2 separate regions of the Homo sapiens genome follow, and region 1 is linked to region 2. Evidence: promoter capture Hi-C in 16 types of primary human blood cells and fetal thymus (Javierre and others, 2016). All regions are on one chromosome and are shown on one strand. Each heading gives the region's core, a stretch centred on a gene start or on the middle of the fragment in contact. The rest is flanking DNA. Distances are from core to core; before and after follow the strand shown. Region 1 overlaps ARID4B (AT-rich interaction domain 4B). Region 2 holds the start of TBCE (tubulin folding cofactor E).

Evidence for each region. The method cuts DNA at HindIII sites, captures the fragments that hold promoters and counts their contacts. A CHiCAGO score of 5 or more calls a contact.
Region 1: a fragment that was not itself captured here is called in contact with the fragment with the promoter of TBCE in region 2 in 2 of 17 cell types (non-activated CD4 T cells and total CD8 T cells); the score reaches 5.8 in non-activated CD4 T cells.

Annotation. Positions count from the first base shown.
Region 1 is chr1:235,258,966-235,261,800 of GRCh38, forward strand. It overlaps ARID4B (AT-rich interaction domain 4B), which reads right to left. Exons shown (of 24, transcript NM_016374.6): 3 at 1,677-1,787. Among named protein-coding and RNA genes, the nearest start is that of ARID4B, 68 kb to the right of the region's middle. The HindIII fragment of the contact is 2,727 bases long and covers 153-2,835 here.
Region 2 is chr1:235,365,991-235,368,841 of GRCh38, forward strand. TBCE (tubulin folding cofactor E) reads left to right here and starts at 1,437. Exons shown (of 17, transcript NM_003193.5): 1 at 1,437-1,514. It overlaps LOC124904559 (a long non-coding RNA gene), which reads right to left and starts at 1,430. Exons shown (of 2, transcript XR_007066957.1): 1 at 1,220-1,430; 2 at 363-633. RefSeq lists enhancers at 1,144-1,857, 1,397-1,736. The HindIII fragment of the contact is 3,498 bases long and covers 1-1,448 here.

The sequences.
Region 1 (2,835 bases), core at 266-2,765, 110 kb before region 2:
ATAAAGAAATTACACATGTTAAAAAATATATCCCTATATCTACTGACAAAATCACTGAATGAAATACACTTTCTTTTTCCTTGTGTATGTGTTTTAATGGACATCACCTCCACAGAAACAAATTTTTAGGGCAGCCGAAAAAATTAAAAATAAGCTTTAGATATTCATTACTTATAAAGCACAAGGTACTCTGTGCTATCAATAGAGGCAGTAGAGTCCAGTAAGAGTTTTGTTCCTTTCATTTACAGCAAGAAATGGCAGGACTGCTACATGTCATTTTCCTAGTTCATTCATTACACAGGAAATGTGCAGCTAAGGATGCAAGATGGGGCTTAAATCCAGCCTTTGCTTTGTGGGCCAAAGCATGGGTCCTGGAGTGACACAGCTCCAGTCCAAAGAGAATGTCTTTTCCAACTGGCACAAACTTGCTATCTGCATGCCAAGCGCTGCTAAGAAGGCTTTCCACCAGGAGAGAGGGCTTTTGTCTACTTCACACAAAGGTGATACATGTGCTACCAGTAGTCCTGAAAAAGTACAAACATTGATAAAAGGCTTTCTCTTCCTCTACAGGATAGTACTGGCAAAAAACAGTGCTTGGGGAATACCAGTGTGTGAAGCCAGAACAGGAAATGCACACTATAAAAGCACCAACCACCAAGCATGTGGAAACTGAAGGTAGGGTGGGGCCAAGACTAGCCCCCTACCAGTTTGTAGTTAATTTAAAGGACTTATCACAATGGTTCCTAACCAGGAGTGTAAATTAGAATCACCCAGGTAGCTTTTTCAACACATCCATGCATAAGGAATATAGGAACAGTAAAAGCTCCAGAAGAGACTGATACCCTCCACAGAAGCACAACACCTCTACAGTCTATGTAATTGGTGAAATAAAAACCAATGGCTTAAAAGGTATCTGCTAATCTAGATTATAAATTCCTTGAGGACAGATCAGGTCAATCTCATCCTAATATCCCCATCCTCCTTCCCACCTAAAAGTTCCCTGCAAAAGGTTTGTCACTCAATAAATTATTGACAAATGAATAAATGTCTATATTCAAGTTCACTTGTCTGGTATTTTTCAGTGCTGATAATTTATTAAAATGGAAGCAATTACACTCCTTTTTCTATATTAAGACAAAACTCAAGTACTTTAGAAAGATGTTTCAAGAAAGGCAGAGCATAAGGAGTCAACAACTAGATGTACCTTATTTCACTGTTATCTAAGGCACCATCAATTACAAGTCACATTCTAATTTTATGGCTGAAATAGAGGGGGTGATGCCTTAAAATTGATGAACTATGGTAGTTCCAATTCTGCCATGAATTTGGCATAATGGCCTTGGAGAAATCACTAACCCTCTCCGAGCCTCATTTTTCTTGTAATAAAATGAAGCAATTAAACTAGATGACTTCTAACTTCCTTTCCAGCTCTAAAACACTATACAAACAATAAGACGTCTATAGTGAAATGGCATTCAAAATACCAACTGTGATAATCTAATTTCTTTCCAATTATAATACTTTTAAAATAACAAAAAATGCTTTGTTTTGAGGTATTTTTACAACCTTCACTCCTAGAAACTTATTTTGCAGAAAAATCTTAAATACACTCACCAAATAAAAGTTTACATATCAAATGCTGAACATACAATTTATGAAATCTATAAATACTGTACCTTGACTTTGACAAGTCTTTTTGCTGTCTTGATCTTGGCTTCACAAAAGGCTCCTCTGTATTTAGCACTCACATCAGTGCCCACTGTCAAATAGGGAGGCTCATCAAGGGCCTAAAAATGCAAAGAAATATAATTAGATTTAAACTCTCTAATTCTTTCCCATAATCAGACCTCAGAATAGTGAGCCTAATCTTGTTAAGCTACAACAGTTATAAATATGAAATGTATGTTAACAAGACCAATCTATAAAATACTATAAATTAAAAAACAAGTAAAATGTTTATCATAAAGACTATTTAAATGTACATCACATAAAATATAAAGGTATCTTATTTCCATTAAATACATATGGTCCATGATATGAATTAGCTCACTCACAAGTATACCCCTCTAGTCACTCATTCATTCAAATATTTATTTATTCTATGACCACTTACAAGAAAAGGGTCCGTTGGCCAGAAGGCAGATCTTTAAAGCTCAAATTCTGGGGTGGGGGGGAAATCTTCTAATATTTAGGCTGTATCTTGGCAGTCACCCAGATTCAGAATAGCTCTGTTATATCTCTATCTAGAAAAGTCTAAGGTAGTTTAGTGTAGTGCCTGGTGTGGTGGTTCCTGCCTATAATCCCAGAACTTTGGAAGGCCAAGGCTGGAGGATCACTTGAGCCCAGGAGTTTGAGACCACCCCAAGCAACATAGGGAAAACTCAACTCTACAAAATAAAAAAATAAAAACTGGCTGGCTATGGTGCCATGCGCCTGTACTCCTAGCTACTTGGGAGACTGAAGTGGGAGGAGTGCTTGAGCCCAAGAGGTCGAGACTCGAGTGAAAAGTGATCGTGCCACTGAACTCTAGCCTGGGCCACAGAGTAAGACCCTGTCTCAAAAAAGCAAACAAAAAAGAATGTAGTATAGCATACAAGGGAGAAAAGTTAGTATATTTAAACTACTAGTGAAAACTATATGAAGAAAGTCATCTGGAAAGTCTCAAAACTTTGAAGCCAAAATATCTTAAATGCTTTAATAGGAGGGATTCGCTGGATATTTACTCTTCTACCTTAACTAATATTTATGTTTCCTCAGTTGTGATTTAGTTTTTAATAGCTGCTCTTACGTTTTACATTCAGGTACATTTCTACATTTTTATTTCTAAGGAGTTCT
Region 2 (2,851 bases), core at 187-2,686:
AGATAGCTTTTATCAGATTTCCAATGTGGTTTTTAATCCCCTCTTCCAAAGAAAAAACAATCACTGTAATATCTAGTTTCTAGTTTCAAGGAGTGAACTATCAAAGTATAAAACAGTAGAGACATCCAGCAGGATACTGACTGTTTGTGTCCATTTAATATGACAATTAGAAGGTCACTTCTTGGAAGAGTCATTTGGCTTTGCTCCCTCAATTTCCTTTCCACTTCACCTCACTTCAGTCTGGTTTTGGAATGCTAACACTCACTCTACCCAAACTGCTCTTGTTGTGGAGTCTGTGGTATCCACCAATGGGTTCTTTCTGCCTGCTGCACAAACAAAATTAATTGACAGAAACCATGGCATTGCAGTAAAGAAAGTTTAATTGACGCGAGGCTGGCCATGCCACGTGGGAGACAGAGTTGTTACTCAAATCCATCTCACCAAAGGCTCAGAGGTTAGGGGGTTTTTCAGATAGTTTGACAGGTACGGGGCCAGGGAATGGGGAGTGCTGACTGGTTGGGTCAGAGGTGAAATCATAAGAAGTAGAAGCTGTCCTCTTGCACTGAGTTGGTTCGTGGATCCCCAGGTTGATGAGTCAGGGTGGGGCCATCCACTTGTCAGAAATGCAAAAACCTGAAAAGACATCTCAAAAGGCCAATCTTAGGTTCTACAACAGTGATGTTATCTGCAGGAATGATTGGGGAAGATGCGAATTTGTGACCTGTGGAATAATGGGTGGTAATCATTTAACTACAATTACAACTTAGAAGAATTCAGGACCCTCTCATTCTCCTAACTTGGTGGCCTTTCATTTAGTTTTAAAAGGGCAGTTTTGGGGAAGGGTTATTATCATTTAAACTATAAACTAAATTTCTCCCAAAGTTAGTTTGTCCTGTGCCCAGGAATGAGCAAAGACAGCCAGTCTGTGAGGCTAGAATCAAGATAGGAGTAAACCATGTCAGATTTCTCTTACTGTCAAAATTTTGCAAAGGCGGTTTCAACAGAAATTAACATGTCTAGGATAGTTGCTTTTTCTATTATTTTTTCTATCACTGCATTTACTTTCATTCTGCCTTATGCTTTAACTAGGTAATTTTTTTTTTTTTTTTAGTTTTGGCGGTATCAACACTATATTCTTCTCTTTGACCACCGCATGCTGCCTACGTGGTAGACTCTCAATACGCATGGAACTGAACCTCTTACAGGATTTGTAACTCACTTCTGTGGTATCTAGTAAACTGGAACACGCGCTTTCCCTGGGCTGCTCTGTCATCCCAGGTTTCAGCACTCGGAAATCGCTTGGGCCCCCGCCCAGAGGCGGGGCTTGGGTGGGCTGACCACTCCTCTGGCCTCCAATACTGTCGCTGACATTCTCGTCTATGCTCCAGCAGCCGTACCTCACTCCGGTGGAGGCGGGACTTCCTACAGCACTTCCGGCCAGAGCCTCAAGCTTCGCTGCTGGGCAGTTGGCTGGAGGGGCTGCTGCTGGGAACACCTGGAGTCTCCGCGGGCAGGTGAGCTTCAGAGGTTCGGGGAGCTTTCGGAACGAGCATTCCTGGCCGGTGCGTCACCCTGCAGTGCTCTTGGCCTTTTCTTCCTTTCCTGGAATCTTCCCAGATTGCCAGAGCCGGGCGTTGCCTGCTCCGTGCGCTGGGAGGCGGTCCAGCCGGCTGGGTTGGGGCCACCCTGCGCCTCCTGGAAGGCCTTATTTAGGAGTAGCCGCACGTGATCTCTAGCATTTTAAGCTTCTCTCAGAGAATTGGCATGTCACTTTGGAAGAGGTGAAAATGGTACAGGCGACCAACGACTTTTACAAGGTGTCACCTTAGAGGAACAGCCTCGTCCTTCCGAATCAGTTAACATTGGTGATGACAGAGAAATAACGTTAAATAGGTGGAGAGCACTTAAAGTAACTGTTTGTTCTTTTGAGACAGTCTTGCTCTGTCGCCCAGGCTGGACTGCAGTGGCGCGGATCTCTGATCTCGGCTTACTGCAACCTCCGCCTCCTGGGTTCAAGCGATTCTGCTGCCTCAGCCTCCCGAGTAGCTGGGATTACAGGCGCGTGCCACCACGCTCGGCTAATTTTTGTATTTTTAGTAGAGACAGGGTTTCTCCATGTTGGCCAGGCTGCTCTCGAACTCCTGATCTCAGATGATCCACCCGCCTCGGCCTCCCAAACTGCTGGGATTACAGGCGTGAGCCACCGCGCCCGGCCTAAAGTAACTATTTTTACTTGGTGTTTACTACCAAATGGGGACTGTTCTAAGTTGTGGGTGGATCCAAATGATGGTGTGACAGCCTTATCCTCAGAGAAGCAGTCCTGGCAGGAAGACGGGGTTAACAAATTGCCAAACTGTTAGAGAAAGTTAGTGGAGGTAGAGATGAAGAGAGAAGACTTTTCTTTTCTCTGGCATTAATTTAGCCACGGCCGCTGTGTTTTGATACTTGCTTCAAACGTTTTTCATATTCTTAAGTTTTAACTTTTCTGTATGCTCATATTTTATATACTGTTGTAAACAGCATATCTCTGGGTTTTTTTTTTAATCTAAGTGGACAGCCTGCTTTTTTTTTTTTTTTTTTTTTTTGATATGGAGTCTTGCTCTGTCGCCCAAGGCTGGTGTGCAGTGGCCCAATCTCAGCTCACTGCAACCACGCCTCCCAGGTTCAAGCATATCTCCCACCTCAGCCTCCCGAGTAGTTGGGATGACAGGTGTGTGCCACCATGCCCAGCTAATTTTTTTTTTTTTGTATTTGTAGTAGAGATGGGGTTTCGCCATGTTGGCCAGACTGGTTTTGAAGGCCTGACTTCAGGTGATCCACCTGCTTCAGCCTCCCAAAGTGCTGGGGCTAC